Regions from separate parts of the Homo sapiens genome. Here region 2 is linked to region 1. The links are contacts of gene promoters, found by promoter capture Hi-C in blood cells and fetal thymus (Javierre and others, 2016). All regions are on one chromosome and are shown on one strand. Each heading gives the region's core, a stretch centred on a gene start or on the middle of the fragment in contact. The rest is flanking DNA. Distances are from core to core; before and after follow the strand shown.

Evidence for each region. Contacts are between HindIII fragments. The CHiCAGO score rates a contact against its expected background, and 5 or more counts as called.
Region 2: a fragment that was not itself captured here is called in contact with the fragment with the promoter of MPLKIP in region 1 in 1 of 17 cell types (total B cells); the score reaches 5.5 in total B cells.

Annotation. Positions count from the first base shown.
Region 1 is chr7:40,129,967-40,137,616 of GRCh38, forward strand. MPLKIP (M-phase specific PLK1 interacting protein) reads right to left here and starts at 4,656. Exons shown (of 2, transcript NM_138701.4): 1 at 4,263-4,656; 2 at 1-3,293. The coding sequence starts at 4,601. The coding sequence ends at 3,093. It overlaps SUGCT (succinyl-CoA:glutarate-CoA transferase), which reads left to right and starts at 5,039. Exons shown (of 14, transcript NM_001193313.2): 1 at 5,039-5,154. The coding sequence starts at 5,055. RefSeq lists silencers at 4,382-4,451, 4,912-5,111 and an enhancer at 4,662-4,731. The HindIII fragment of the contact is 4,548 bases long and covers 3,068-7,615 here.
Region 2 is chr7:43,727,364-43,735,013 of GRCh38, forward strand. COA1 (cytochrome c oxidase assembly factor 1) reads right to left here and starts at 2,160. Exons shown (of 6, transcript NM_018224.4): 1 at 2,066-2,160. RefSeq lists enhancers at 1,446-2,175, 2,176-2,904, 2,271-2,470. The HindIII fragment of the contact is 546 bases long and covers 2,814-3,359 here.

The DNA.
Region 1 (7,650 bases), core at 3,406-5,905:
AGCAGGGAAAAAGAACTGGCATGATCCCTTGATATGGATATGTTTTTATGTAGGTCAATTTTAATAAAGGATTTACATGGGCACTGCGATCTGAATTTGCATTCCCTTAAAGCTATTTATGCCTGCATATCCCTTAGAAAGTTTAATATTCCCAGGAGTATGTAGACCCTTGTTTGAAGACTCTACTATAGACTACACTTCCATCCTTTAAGCATATGAATTTTTAAGATGTATACTTAATTGTAAGTTTTTCTAAAAAGTTATTCAGCATTTTTATAGAGGTAAAATGTGTATCCTAGAACATTAAAAAACAATCCCTTTCATTTTAAAGAATAATCAATTCCTTTTACTCAGATAAATAAAAATAGAGTAACGGTAACAAACCAAATGGCCAATGCCACAAGAATTTTGATAACTGAATACACTACTTACAGTGTATGCATCTTTCCTGAGGACAAAAATTTTTCTTAAAAAACTCAGGCCAGGTCTCTAGAAGTAGATGTTGGTAAGCGTTAGCAAGAAATTTTACCTTTGTTTTATGTTACACTTACAGTGAAATAAAATGTACGTAGACCATTAGAAGAGTTACAGTTTGAATGTCTTCCAAATATGATATAAATACACTGGCACAAAATCCTAACTTCTGTTTTCGTCTTTACTAATAACCCAATGATCTAAGAGATGCTTCAGTAAATTATCTCCAAATGTCATTTCCTAAAGACAACATTTCTTACCTATAAAGTTCAATAAAGTATTTAAAAAAGTATTCCCTTTGCTTTAATTTCCATTATACATCATGACCTCAACATATCTGGAAAGACATAATGTTGGGAATAAGGACTTTTTCTTTAAAATACTGGGGAAAAATTACTAAGTTATCCCTTTTATATACAGGGTGTAGGTAGAACAATATAGTAGTTACAATCAGAATTTCTACATCCATTTATCACTTAAGTACCTACTATCTTGCAGACACTATTCTAAAAACTAAGGAAATGGGGGTAAATGAGAAAGTAACAGCTACCACTTATTGAGTGCTTACTATGTGCCAGGCTCTGGCTTAAGAGTTTCATACATAAATTCATTTAATCCTCCAACACAACACCTCTATGACACAGGTACTATTAATTTTCTCATCTTACACATGAGAAAATTGAGGCATAGAGAAGTGAACTCATCCAGCTAGTAACTTGTAGAAACAGCATTTCCAAAATCCTGGCTTTCATGGAGCTTTTATTAATCTAAAAGCCTTCCATTCTTATTTTCTAGTCTCTGTGAAATACCTAATGAACAAATTTCTGTGGGTATGGTTCAAATAGGAGGTGTGACCATTTTGTTTTTACACGTTTCTTTCTGGGAATGTTGAAACAAAAGTTTTACTAGCTCTATCTTCGTATTTTGTAACTTCAAAATGCCTAGAGTCTGTGTTACATGTTAAAACACCTGATTTTGGCCGGGCATGGTGGCTCACGCCTGTAAACTCAGCACTGTGGGAGGCTGAGATGGGTGGATCATTTGAGATCATGAGTTCGAGACCAGCCTGGTCAACATGGTGAAACTAAAAATACTAAAAATACTAAAAATACATGTTCTGGGCTGGGCACGGTGGCTCATGCCTGAAATCCCAGCACTTTGGGAAGCCAAGGTAGGGGATCACTTGAGACCAGGAGTTCAATCGAGACCAGCCTGGCCAACACGGTGAAACCCCATCTCTATTCAAAATACAAAAATGAGCCAGGCGCGTGCCTGTATTCCCAGCTACTCAGGAGGTCGAGGCGGGAGACTCGTATGAACCTGGGAGGCGGACGTTGCAGTGAGCCAAGATTGCGCCACTGCACTCCAGCGTGGGCAACAGAGTGAGACCCTATTTCAAAAACAAAACAAAACAAACAAAAAAAACAAAACATGGTCTCTACTAAAAATACAAAAATTAGCCAGGCATGGTGACATGTGCCTGTAGTCCCAGCTACTCAGGAGCCGAAGGTTGCAGTGAGCCAAGATTGCACCACTGCACTCCAGCTTGGGCAACAGACTCCATCTCAAAAAACAAACAAAAAACCACTTGATTTTTAAAAAATAGTTGGGGTAACAATTCTTCCATATTTTTCTCTCCAGAACTATAGGTATATATCCATAGCATCCCTTAATTTGGAAAACCACTTCTCTACTCCAGGTAGGCCCAGTGGTGTTCAAGGTCACAGAATCCTGTCTCATTATGGTGATGTGTCCATGATTCAAGTTAATTAGGTCTCACTGTGGCCTTGGCCACAGTTAATTGGTTCAATAATACAGAAACATGATCTAAGTATGGCAAATTTGTCTTCTCTTGGATTGATGGAGATGAGAGATGTTCTTTTTGCAATGGAAGTGATTTGAGGCTGCTGGTAGCTATCTTCTTTGGCCTCAAGAGAAACTAACTCCATAATGCTAAGAGGTATAGAGAAATTCAGATAGAACACTTTGATTTAGCAATGCATGGTCTATTCTTGCCTTTTCCAGTTAAATGAGTATAAAGTTATGCTTAAATGGGTTTCTGGGGCTTCAAGTTTTAATGCATTTTAACAGAAGCATTAGATAAAATGAGTATGAACAGAACTCTGTTATTCTCATCCTCATTATTTACGAACAAATACAGAGCTGTCTACAGCTCAAAGGATGGTTTACCTATTTCATTTTCAAAAATAATTTGCAAAACATTTACCTATGAACTCTAAGTGACTACAAAGCATTACTGTAGTAAGTCTACTTCTTTATCATACCACAAAACCACAATAGCTAGAAGACAAAATGTTTTATTTTAAAACATTGAAAAAACATTAAAAGACAAATGTCCATTATGTAACCAGGAATGTTAAATATATGGAAACGGTAAATCTCTAAAATGTGGTAGGTACTTCCAGAGCTAAATGTTGCAAGTTATCCTACTTTTTTCTCTAATATCAACAATACCTGATACGATGAAAAATAACAAAAAGACCTTACTAATTATCCAATCAAAGTCATCATCTTTGGGTAAATTTATATCAACACAACTTAAAGTTTTGTCCAAGATGTTCCTGACACATGAAGCTTCCAGTTGAATTTCAGAAATGTTAACAAAAGTATCTTCCTTTTTTGCCTGTGAATGTTTGAGTATTGCTGTATTGTTGGCTTATATCCACTACAGATACTGGTTCTAGGCCAGCCCAAGGATCTTCAAGCATTGAAGGCTTGAAATAATTTTCCAACTCATTAGACATTCTTTTTTCTCTAACACGCCCTGATCCAAATGGTGTAGATGTCCTTGGAGAACCCTTTAGAAAAAAAATCAGTTAAAAAAACACTTAGTAAAGATAATTGGTACTTCTTCCTTTAGCTAAAGGTTAGCGGGAATCACATTGCTGCTTAAAAGTTGTGACTTGAACCTAAATAATGTTCAATTACAAAGTCCATGCTTCCTTTAATCAAGTGTTCCTATTTTTTAAAAAAAGTACTTAAAGCAATTCGTTATTCTCATTTATTTATAATTCCATGACCACTGTCATCTCAAATACTTTTGTGTCTAATGTAGTAACTTTGCAGTAATTAAATACAAGCAGTGATGAAATCAAGTAATTATATTCAATTTTCCCTCGAAATTTTCACTTTTTTCAGGAGAAAACAATACTATAGTTTTAAAGTTTCTAGAACCTTTCTAGCTCATGAACATTTTCTTTACTCCTTAGCTCCAGGCTCAAAAGGGGTAGGGGGTTGGTGTAGAATACAGCAAGTTGGAAAACCACGTAGTTGCAAGTTGTAAACCACAGAAATCCCAGACATGCTAGAGATACTCTCTCTGTCTTTTGTATTTACTCTCACTAAAGGAATGGAAAACTTCCACTACCACCGATTTTCTTTTCAGGGAAGTTGGAGCAGAAGCCAGTGTAGCTCGAAAGAAAGATAAAAAAAAAAAAAAAAAAAAGAAAAAGAACTATTTCTTGAAACAAACTGGCAAGGCCTTTGGCAAACAGGAGGAAATGGAGAATTAGGAAAATCTGTGTACGGGTGGCAGTGTATTGGTTAAAAGCACGAGGGCTCGAAAACAGAACGTACGGCTCTGCCACTCTTTCGGATAATCTTCCGGAAGTCACTCAACTTCTCTAAGCCTCAGTTCGCTCATCTGCAAAATTGGGCTAACAATAGTACCTCAGAGAGGATTAGACAAAATAATCCACGTAAAGGGAATATTAGTACCGTGCCTGCCATAAAGTAAGAGCTCGGCAAACGCTGGCTATTATTATTACCTGGGGGTGGGTCTGCTGCTGCCCTGGGGAGTAGCCGAATTGCTGCTGGGACCCCGCGGGGGACCTGGAGTAGGAGCCAGGGTAGCCGCCAGGGGACGGAGACCCGAACCGGCCCCCCGGGAAGCTGCCGCCGTGTCGCGGAGAGTGACTGCTCCCGTACGGCCTAGACCGGGGCCCGTACGGCGGCGTGTGGTGCGGACTCCCGTACCCGTCTCGAGGGGAGGGCGGCCGTGGTCCGCCCCCGCCCGGGGTTCCCCGGAAGCTGCTTCCGCTACCCCAACCTCCTCCACCCGGACCAGGGTAAGGAGGAGTTGGGGGCCGAAAATTCTGTCGCTGCATATCAGGAGCCAAAGCCGAAAACCTCGCAGCCGCGTTCTCCCACCGGAACTGTATCAACCGGCCCTCCGCAGAGAACTGCTAGTCCTTTACCAAAACAGTCCTCCGACCGCAGCCACCCTACGGCACATCAGTTCCGGCGTCACAAAGGTTCCGCCAGGGGCGGCGGGATTACCTAAATCACTGACTTGGCGAGAGACTCAGTGGATTTAAGTGAAAAGAGGAAGAAAAGGAGACAGGAAAGGACGGACACCCAAGCCCAGCAACAACCTTTCCAGTCTGAGTGCCCTTGGTCTGACCGACAGACTAGAAGCTGGCCCAGCAGGCGACTAGTGCTCAGCCCCGCCCGGCGGGGGCGGGGTCTGCGGCGTCCGTGGGCGCCCCCCAGTGGCGGCGGGTGGCGCCGCACGGAGTTCGCCGCTTGCACCGGGACCGATGCCATCTGAGACGCACGCGATGCTGGCGACGCTGGCGAGGGTGGCAGCTCTGCGCAGAACCTGCCTCTTCTCCGGCCGGGGCGGCGGGAGGGGGCTGTGGACTGGCCGCCCGCAGTCAGGTACCCTCCGAGATTCGGTCTGGGTGGCTAAAGGGATCCCTGCCCCAGCTTGCCTCCTCGGGCGCCCTGAGGAGAGCAATTAGGGTCTGAAGTCTCTGCTGACCCCTTAGCGGTGGCTTTGCTCGCCTCCCTGCAACCCCGTTCCGTGGGCCTGCGGCCGGCCTGCCCCGCTCTGGCCGCCCAGGGTCGCCTCTGTCCCGTGCGTTGTTGTGACCGAGGGCTCCGTGCGCCGTGGGGTCCCGCTCCTGCGCGTCCCGCGGCTCGCGTTTGGGGCCTCTTTACTCCTGTCCTTTCGTCCGCCAAGTTTAAGTAACTTCGAAAATGCACACCAAGCCACATTTCAGAAAGGACTTTAGCCCGCTGCTTTGAATAACTTGACACTTCATGTACAATAAAAGATGCCCTTGTACAGTTACCTGTTGCAGAATTTTATTTAGAGGATGAAATTTAGCTTTACTACAGTGTTATAGAACTTTCTTTACTCCCTCTGAATTTGGGAATGGTAATCCACTATGAATCTTTTTTTTCCTTTTTTCTTTTTTTCTCTTTTTTTTGAGACGGAGTCTCGCTGTCTCGCCCAGGCTGGACTGCAGTGGCGCGATCTCGGCTCACTGCAACCTCCTCCTCCCGTGTTCAGGAGATTTTCCTGCTTCAGCCTTCCGAGTAGCTGGGATTATAGGCATGCGCCACCACGCCCAACTAATTTTTGTATTTTTAGTAGAGACGGGGTTTCGCCATATTGGCCAGGCTGGTCTCGAATTCCTGACCTCAAGTTATCCTCCCGCCTCGGCCTCCCAAAGTGTTGAGATTACAGACGTAATCTCTATGATTATGCGCGCGGCCCACTATGAATCTTGAAATTAGTTGCAGGATGCAGGATTTTTTTTTTTTTTTTTGAGACAGTCTCGCTCTGTCGCCCAGGCTGGAGTGCAGTGGCGCGATCTTGGTTCACCACAACCTCTGCCTCGCGGGTTCAAGCGATTCTCTTGCCTCAGCTTTCTAGAGTAGCCGAGATTACAGGCATGTGCCACATGCCCGGCTAATTTTTTTGTATTTTTAGTAAAGACGGGTTTCACCATGTTGGCCAGGCTGGTCTCAAATTCCTGGGCTCAAGTGATCCGCCTGCCTCTGCCTCCCGAAGTGCTGGGATTTCATGCGTGAGCCACCGCGCCTGGCGTAGGATACAGAATCTTAAAAGAGCTTTAGGACTCATTAAATCATAGCCTAACGGGTAGCCTGGACCTGTGATTTCCATTCACCCTCTTGTAGCTGCTACTCCTCGCTGTCTCTTTGACATGTTCTGTGACATCCCAAGCTGACGAGTGTGGTATCTTCTCAGCTTCTATCCTCCTTGATGAATGGAGACACACACAGACAGTTTTTTTGTTTGTTTATTCTGTGGAAATTCAATTCACTACATTTCGTTTCTTCTGTAGATACAAGTGATAGACTTAATCAAGGTAGCACGTTGCCATTAAGGCTTAGTGATACAATTAAGGTCGGAGGACTCCAGCCTATCCACTTTATTAAATACAGTAGTTCTGTCCTGGCCAAAAATTCACCTTTCTGGACATTGTCTTTAGTGTTTAACTTAATGCTTGGGAATTGCTCATTTGAATATTTATTGAATAAAATGACCTAGGTGGGACGATTGCTTGAGCCCAGGAGTTGAAGACCAGCCTGGGCAACATCGTGAAGCCCCATTTCTACCAAAAATACAAAAAAAATTAGCCGGGCTTGGTGGCGTGCGCCTGTAGTCCCAGTTGCTTGGGAGGCTGAGGTGGGATGGCTTGAGTCCTAGGAGGTTGAAGCTGCAGTGATCCGCTATTGTGCCACTGCACTCCAGCCTGGGTAACAGAGCGAGACCCTATCATGCCCCCCCACCCCACTGGAAAAAAAAAAGGTTCACATACATCACATAGGTAATTTTCACCTTTTAGATCATCAGCCAGTCTACTCAGGGGAGGGGGCAGAAAAGTGAGAGTGGTGGGGACCAAAATTAACTTTATTATTATTATTATGGACATGGGGTGGTCTCACTCTGTCACCGAGGCTGGAGTGCGGTGGTGAGATCACAGATCACTGCATCCTCGACCTCCTGGGCTCAAGTGATCTTCCCACGTCAGTCTCCCAAGTAGCTGGGAGTACAGGCTCATGCTACCATGCCTGGCTAATTTTTTTATTTCTTTATTTTTTGTAGAGACAGGGTCTTGCTGTGTTTCCCAGAACTCCCCACCTCAAGCATTCCTCTCTCCTGCCTTGGCCTCCCAAAACTCTGCAATTAAATGGTGTGGTGAGCCACCATGCCCAACCAACAAATTAATTTAATAGTAAACAGTTTAACTGATGGACGCCTAATGAGTATATAGATCTTTATTCCATCAACCCATTTATCTGTATAACTTCAATCTAACTAAAGTTCACTAAAATTTATTAAAATTCAAAAGCCATGCTCTTTTTAAGCTTCTAGTAGTACATTTTGTAGCAAGATAAAAG
Region 2 (7,650 bases), core at 1,837-4,336, 3.6 Mb after region 1:
TAGGCACATACGCAAGAGAAATGAAAACATGATGTCCACACAAAAACTTGTAGGTGAATGTTCACAGCAGCATTACACATAATGGCCAAAAGGTGGAAACAATCCAAACGTCCACTAACTAATGGAAAATAAATCGTGGTAATACCCATAAAAGATTAACCAGCAATAAAAAAAAGTACTGACACATGCTATTAAATACAACACAGATGAACATGAATGTTAAGTAAAAGAAGCCAGTTGAAAAAGACCACATGCTGTATGATTTCACTCACATGAATAATCCAGAATAGTCAAATATACAGTCAGTCAATTCATAGTTGCTTAGGGCTTAGAATGGGGAGTGGGGATGGGGAAGTCAGGTGAGCCTGCTGAATAAGTACAGGGTTTCCTTTTGGAGTGATGAAAATGTTCAATTGTTCCAATATGGCTCTCACAAACTGAATGCAGCATATTAAACATGAACAAAAGAATACAAGAATAACTTATTGGAGTCTGTCTGAAATAGAAAATTAAACCAACTAATGAAGGTGAAGAAGATTACAGCATATTTTATGATGATGGTTGTACAACTTTGTGAATGTACTAATGTACTAATTACTTTTAGGTTTTCTTTCTTTTTTTTTTTTTTTGAGATGGAGTCTAGCTCTCTCGCCCAGGCTGGAGTGCAGTGGCGCAATCTCGGCTCACTGCAAGCTCCACCTCCCGGGTTCACACCATCCTCCTGCCTCAGCCTCCCAAGTAGCTGGGACTACAGGCTCCCGCCACCACGCCCGGCTAATTTTTTGTATTTTTAGTGGAGACGGGGTTTCACCGTGTTAGCCAGGACGGTCTTGATCTCCTGACCTCGTGATCCACCCGCCTCGGCCTCCCAAAGTGCTGGGATTACAGGCGTGAGGCACCGCTACGTTTTAAATGGTGAACTCTACGGTAGGTGAACTATGTGTCAGGAAGCTGTTTTATTTTTTTAAAGGACTGAAGACTTTTGTTTTGTGTTTTGTTTTGTTTTCATTTTATCCCGTTTTTAAAACAGTGCCTAGCAATATTATGAATTCAATCGATTTTGGCTAAATGCTAGAACAAAAATTAAAACTTGAGTAAACCATATAAAACTTTGCCATATCTAAAGTTATTAAATTACCGTAGACTGGCATGGTGGGAGCATAATATGAGTGTACCTGCAGGTGTGTTTTCCATGAAAGTAGCAAAGACTGAAAAACTCAGCAGAATCAAGACCCTGTAGGCCCTTGAAGTTAGGCTAAGAAATGTGTATTATCCTGAAAGCAACGGGAAGGCCAGGAAGATTCTGAGGACAGAAATAACACAATCTGATATGCGTTTTAAACGTGCAGGTGTAAGCGGAGAGTTGCTACTTCTATCCAAACGTGAGCCACCTCAGAAATAAAGCAATAGCCCTCCGGGGAGAATGGGGAGGAATCAGGGGAAGACCGGAGAAACAGGTTATCAAATTATCAGAATCTCCATAGATTTTTTTAAATTACACAGCATCCACCCCCAAACACACATACAGACTGATAGGCACTGATATATACATAAATACATCCAATGTCCCCTACACAGAAAATCACTTTTGCAGTCAGCCCCTGTTGGGAGGGTTTTTCTGTTATTCAAGTGTGGTGGGGACAAAAAGTATTATAACCACTAAACCAGGTAATTCTTTCCTACAATAATTTGGGCAGCGTACTCCTCAGGGTGTTGAAATTTAGCACTACCAACAAAAGTGCCCAGTCCCAACTCTTCGAGAGGACCCTAACTCTTTACAGTGTGCTGTTGGGGATGGTCAGCAAAAACTGCAGGACAAGGTCAAGGTTAGCTCGACACAGCCTCCTAACTCCGAGCGGACGGAGCCACTGAAGGTTACCAGGTGCCAAAGAAGCTGCGCAGGGAGGCCGCGACCCGGCGCCGGCGCGAACCTCCGCGATGTGACCCGTGAGGGAACTCTCCAAGAAGCAGCGCACCCCGCGCGCAAAGGCGGCCCCCCGAATTGCAGGAACAAACGCTTCTTGCTGGGGGGAAGACGGAGACTCTTATACCGCGGGAGACTAACCTGTGAGCAACAGAAGCACCACGCTACAAAGAGCATGACGAGTTCTTCCAGGCTTGGGAAAGCACGGGTAAATGCCCGCGGTCCTGCGCGCCAGCGGGGAGCAGTAGAGACTTCCGGCGTCGGCTGCTCGCAGGGCTAGAGCGTCGAACCGGGACAACCGGAGGCTTCAGCTCACCTCGGATTGTAAATGCTAACACGGGTCCTCCGGCCGGCTGATCCAGAACTTAGGTCGCCGGGACGTGTGGCTTCTGCTTCTCAGACGCTCGGACTCGCGCCGGGAAGGGTTTCGCCTCCCCTGGTCCCCGCTTTTTTTTTTTTTTTCTGCGTCCGGTTATTGCAAATGCATTCAGTCCAGTAGCACTAGCCCAGGAAATATAAGCCACCGGCTCACGTTGCTCCTCACAGGTATGCGGCGCTTCCGCTGGCCTCCAAGGACACGAAGCCCCGGGCCGTCTGGCCCCCCACTCTAGCACTGAAATTCCTGCCGCCCCGTTCAGCTGACAAATTTGGCAGCACTAAATTTTATTTTATTCGACAAATTAAGTACCCAGTTAACACCAGGGAGTAACGGGGTAAGAAAATTTCAGAAGGCTGGTGGATAATAATAGCATTTACCTCATAAATTTGTTATGAGGATGTGAAGCACTTAGAGTAGTGTCTGGCAGTTTGTAGGCGCTCAGTAACTGTTAGCTGTTATTATTTTTATATTGATTATTCCATAGTCACCACTATTATCACCTTAATGTCAAGCTTGAAATCCAGTATCTTTCCTCTGCGAAGCCATCACTCCAAGACTAATTAACTTTAGACTGGGGCATTCTTCTTTAAACTCTTGCTCACACATCCCTATCAGAAAAAATATATATATATTTACATGTGTCATGTATGGCATTAATATATTATGCATGCTATAAAACTCACAAGACATCAAACTTTTGATGAGGTAAAAACAATTTTTAAACTTTTTTAAAAACTTCTAACAGAAGTTCTTTTCTTCCTCCACAACAATTAGGTTGCCAAACATACATTCTATCACTCTGGAATCCACTAGCTAAATGAGCACATTATCAAAGCAACCTACCGCTGAATTCTGACTTCCCAGAATGTTTCTTTTCCAAAGAATTAATAGAAACTAATCAGATTGTGAAGTGCTCGGCCATAAGGACTATTTAAATGGTTCTTAGAGAAAAAGAAGAAATAAAATAGGCATCCACTGAGTAATATTCATTGATGCAACATTGATTATTGACTTATTACATTTTCAAAGAGATTGAGGTTATAATACCTTACACCAAGCTTAATATTTCAAAGAATAAATCAACTAATAAAAAGCTTATGAGGTTTGGTATATGTGCATTTCATACAACGTTCATGAAAATGAACCCGAGATCAATTAGCTCCCGTTCTGTACCAGAAAGAGAAATATGTTTACTTTGTAAGTAATAAAACATTAAATAGGCTTTTCTGACCATTTGCTTGAAAACTCAGAACTTAACATTTCTATCACTGGACTTAAATCTGCTAAAGTTTTCGTCTAAATTTTACATTAAAAACAAAACTCTATAGTGAATAATGTTACCTATCCAATATTCATTTTCCTCTAACTCCTTTGTACCAAAATCCTTATTTTATTCAGATAGCTGCCCTGTTCCCAGAATCAAAATGATACTGATTAAACCAGTCATCACACAGAATTTTTTTGTCGTCTAAATTTTACATTAAAAACAAAACTCTATAGTGAATAATGTTACCTATCCAATATTCATTTTCCTCTAACTCCTTTGTACCAAAATCCTTATTTTATTCAGATAGCTGCCCTGTTCCCAGAATCAAAATGATACTGATTAAACCAGTCTTCACACAGAATTTTTTTGGAAATAGTTGCTAATCAAGGAACGAGTATATGACCCAGGTTGGCGCAATCTGACTGAAGGAAAGGACCTCTATTTCATGCTCAGGAGAAAGTTTCTGATATACTGTCCTCTTGACGTCGAAACATCTATCCCACACTGTCATTAGTAGCCATCTTGCCCATCACAAGGAATAAAACTGATGGACCAATGCTGAGGACAACTGAACAAGTTATAAAACAATGTCCTTGGTGACATCATTCCAAACCTGGAGCTCACCCTGTATCTGAATGCCTTGTAGGAATGTCTAATAAGTTTCCTTATTGTTTTTGTTTTCTGTTTTTCTGAGACTGAGTCTCACTCTGTCGCCCAGGCAGGAATGCAGTGGCATGATCTCAGCTCACTGCAACCTCTGCCTCCCGGGTTCAAGCAATTCTCCTGCTTCAGCCTCCCAAGTAGCTGTAACTACAGGCATGCACTGCCACGCCTGGCTAATTTTTGTATTTTTAGTAGAGAAGGGGTTTCACCATGTTGGCCAGGCTTCTCTTGAACTCCTGACCTCAGTGATCCACCCACCTTGGCCTCCCAGAGTGCTGGGATCCTTACTGTTTTCTGATAGAGATGCCATAAAGATTAAATGGGTTAAAATAGTGCTGGTCATATTGTAAGTATTTTAAGTGCTTAATAAATTTTAGTTATTATTAACTCACCTTAAGTCAGGGATTCTGTTTCTTATAGCCAAAATTACCCATCAAAATACACATTCTACCTCTCTTTTTCTATATATTTAAAGAAAGGGTCTGTTTTGATACTTTTAAACTAAGGAGCCAGGGAAGGGGTAGGAGGTGAAGAGAGGAGGGGCTGACTATAATGCTGTATGAGGGCTACTGTTAAGTGGTTAAATGGCTGCTTTGAGATTCACTCAAGAGCAGCAGGATCCTATAACTATCAAATCTGAATGAGGTTACTACACATCGTAGTTGTATGTATACATGAAAGTATCATTTCCTGCATATTAATATTGTGATCCACTGCCTTACTAAGTTGCTTTATTGTTTGGAGTTCATTCTGGTAGAATTTCTAAGATTGCAATCTTATCATTGAAATAGTTTTACCTACTTCTTTCCAAGTTTTATACCTCTACTTTCTCATATCTAATTGTTTTGGCTAGTATCTCCAGTAAAATATTTAATAATAATAATGACAGTAGACTTTTATGTCTTATTCCTATCTTTAATGAGATATCTTTAGAATTTTCCCATTAAGCATGATGCTGGTTTTAAGGACTGAAGTAGACATCTTTTATCATGTTAAGGAACTATCCACCTATTGAGAGAAAGAAGAAAATTTTGGCATAAGAGCTTTGAGAAAACAAAGCATTGAGCGTGCCATAATGTCCTGTCATAAAAATAAGTAAAAGTTAGACAGTATTTACCTCAAAGACACTGAGAAAATTAACATTAGCTAGGTTGGTATGAATGTCCTTTCTTGCTTATCTTACTACCAGCATGAAATTCAGTCCTGCCTAGTTTGTTTACAAGAAATTCACCTGTGATATCCTGATTTTTAACCCTGAAAAAGTTATTTATCTCTTACAATATGTCCTGTTTAATGTAAAGTTAATGCTTGCTCTACATGTTTTTTGTTTTTTGCTTTTGTGTTTGCTTTTACATGTACTCCAAGCACATGCTCTACATGTTTGTTATAGGAAATAATGTGCACCTCCTATAATTTTGTTATAGGAAATTGTAGCTGTTCAAATATGCTGATTGCAAAAAATAAAGGACATTTTATAATAATTGGGTTAGATCATCAAGAAGATATAACAGTCTTAAATTTGTATGAATCTGGCCAGGCGCAGTGGCTCACGCCTGTAATCCCAGCACTGTGGGAGGCTAAGGCAGGCGGATCACGAGGTCAGGAGTTCGAGACCAGTGTGACCAACATAGTGAAACCCCATCTCTACTAAAAATACAAAAATTGGCCAGGCGTCGTGGTGCGCATCTGTAATCCCATCTACTCAGGAGGCTGAGGCAGTAGAATCGCTTGAACCTGGGAGGCAGAGGTTGCAGTGAGCCGAGATCGTGCCACTGCACTCCAGCCTGGGCAACAGAGCGAGACTCCGTCTCAAAATAAAAAAAATTGTTTGGAACTAATAGCAGAGCTTCAATAAATGTGAAGCAAAGACTGACAGGACAATTCAAAAAATTGGAAATTGTAGGCTGGGTGCGGTGGTTCACACCTGTAGTCCCAGCACTTTGAGAGGCCAAGGTGGACGGATCGCGAGGTCAGGAGTTCAAGACCAGCCTGACCAACAGGGTGAAACCCTGTCTCTTCTAAAAATACAAAAATCGGCCTGGCATGATGGCGTGCACCTGTAATCCCAGCTACTCAGGAGGCTGAGGCAGGAGAATTGCTTGAACCCAGGAGGTAGAGGTTGCAGTGAGCCGAGATTGCAGCACTGCACTCCAGCCTGGGTGACAGAGTGAGACTCCATCTAAAAAAAAGAAGAAAAAAGAAAAGAAAAATTGAAAATTGTAGTGGAGATTTTAACATTCATCTCTCAGCAATTAATAGAAAAACTAGACCAAAAAATCAGTAAGTGCATAAAAAACTGGAGCAACACTATTAACCAACTTGACCTGTTTAATATTTATAGAACACTCCATAAATAGCTAAATGCACCTTTTAAGTGTGTAGAATATTTTTATGCCAGTTCATAAACATTGATAAACTTAAATACATTGAAATTGTATAAAGTTTTTTGTCTTACCATAATTATAAATTAGTAACAGATATCTGGAAAACACAAATATTTTGAAATTAAGTAACACACTTCTTTTGAAATTAAGTATACATTTTGACTCATGGGTCAAAGAAGTAATGGTAAAGGAAACAGGCGTATTTTGAAGTGAATAAAAATAAAAATATATATCAAAAGGCATTGAATGCAGTTAAAGTAGTGCTTTAGAGAGGAAAATTATAGCATTGCATTCTTAATATAAGGAATAAAAATATAAGAAAAGAAAAAGTATAAGTTAAATTATTTTAGCTTCCACTTTAAGAAATTGGGGGGAAAATTAAAAATAATAGAAAATGAAATAATAAAGATAATTTTGGAAATCAATTAAGTAAAAGAGCTAGTTCTTTTTTCAGTTTATTTATTTTTGAGATGAAGTCTTGCTATGTTTCCTAGGCTGGTCACAAACTTCTGGGCTCAAGCAATCCTCCCACCTCAGTCTTTGGAGTAGCTGGGGATTACAGGCACTCAACACTGCACCCAGCTAAAAAAGCTGGTTTTTTTAAAAGACCTGTAGGGTCTAGCCCTACGGGGCTTAGCGGGTGTTCTCCCCATGTGCGGAGACAAGAGATTGTAATAAATAAAGACACAAGACAAAGAGATAAAGAGAAAGCAGCTGGGCCCGGGGGACCACTACCATCAAGATGCGGAGACCGGTAGTGGCCCTGAACGGCTGGGCTCGCTGATATTTATTGCATACAAGACAAGGGGGCAGGGTAAGGAGGGTGAATCTTCTAAGTGGTTGACAACGTGAAGCAAGTCACATGATCATAGGACAGGGGGCCCTTCCCTCTTAGGTAGCCAAAGCAGAGAGAGAGAGAAGGCAGCATACGTCAGCGTTTTCTTCTATGCACTTATAAGAAAGATCAAAGACTTTAAGACTTTCACTATTTCTTCTACTGCTATCTACTACGAACTTCAAAGAGGAACCAGGA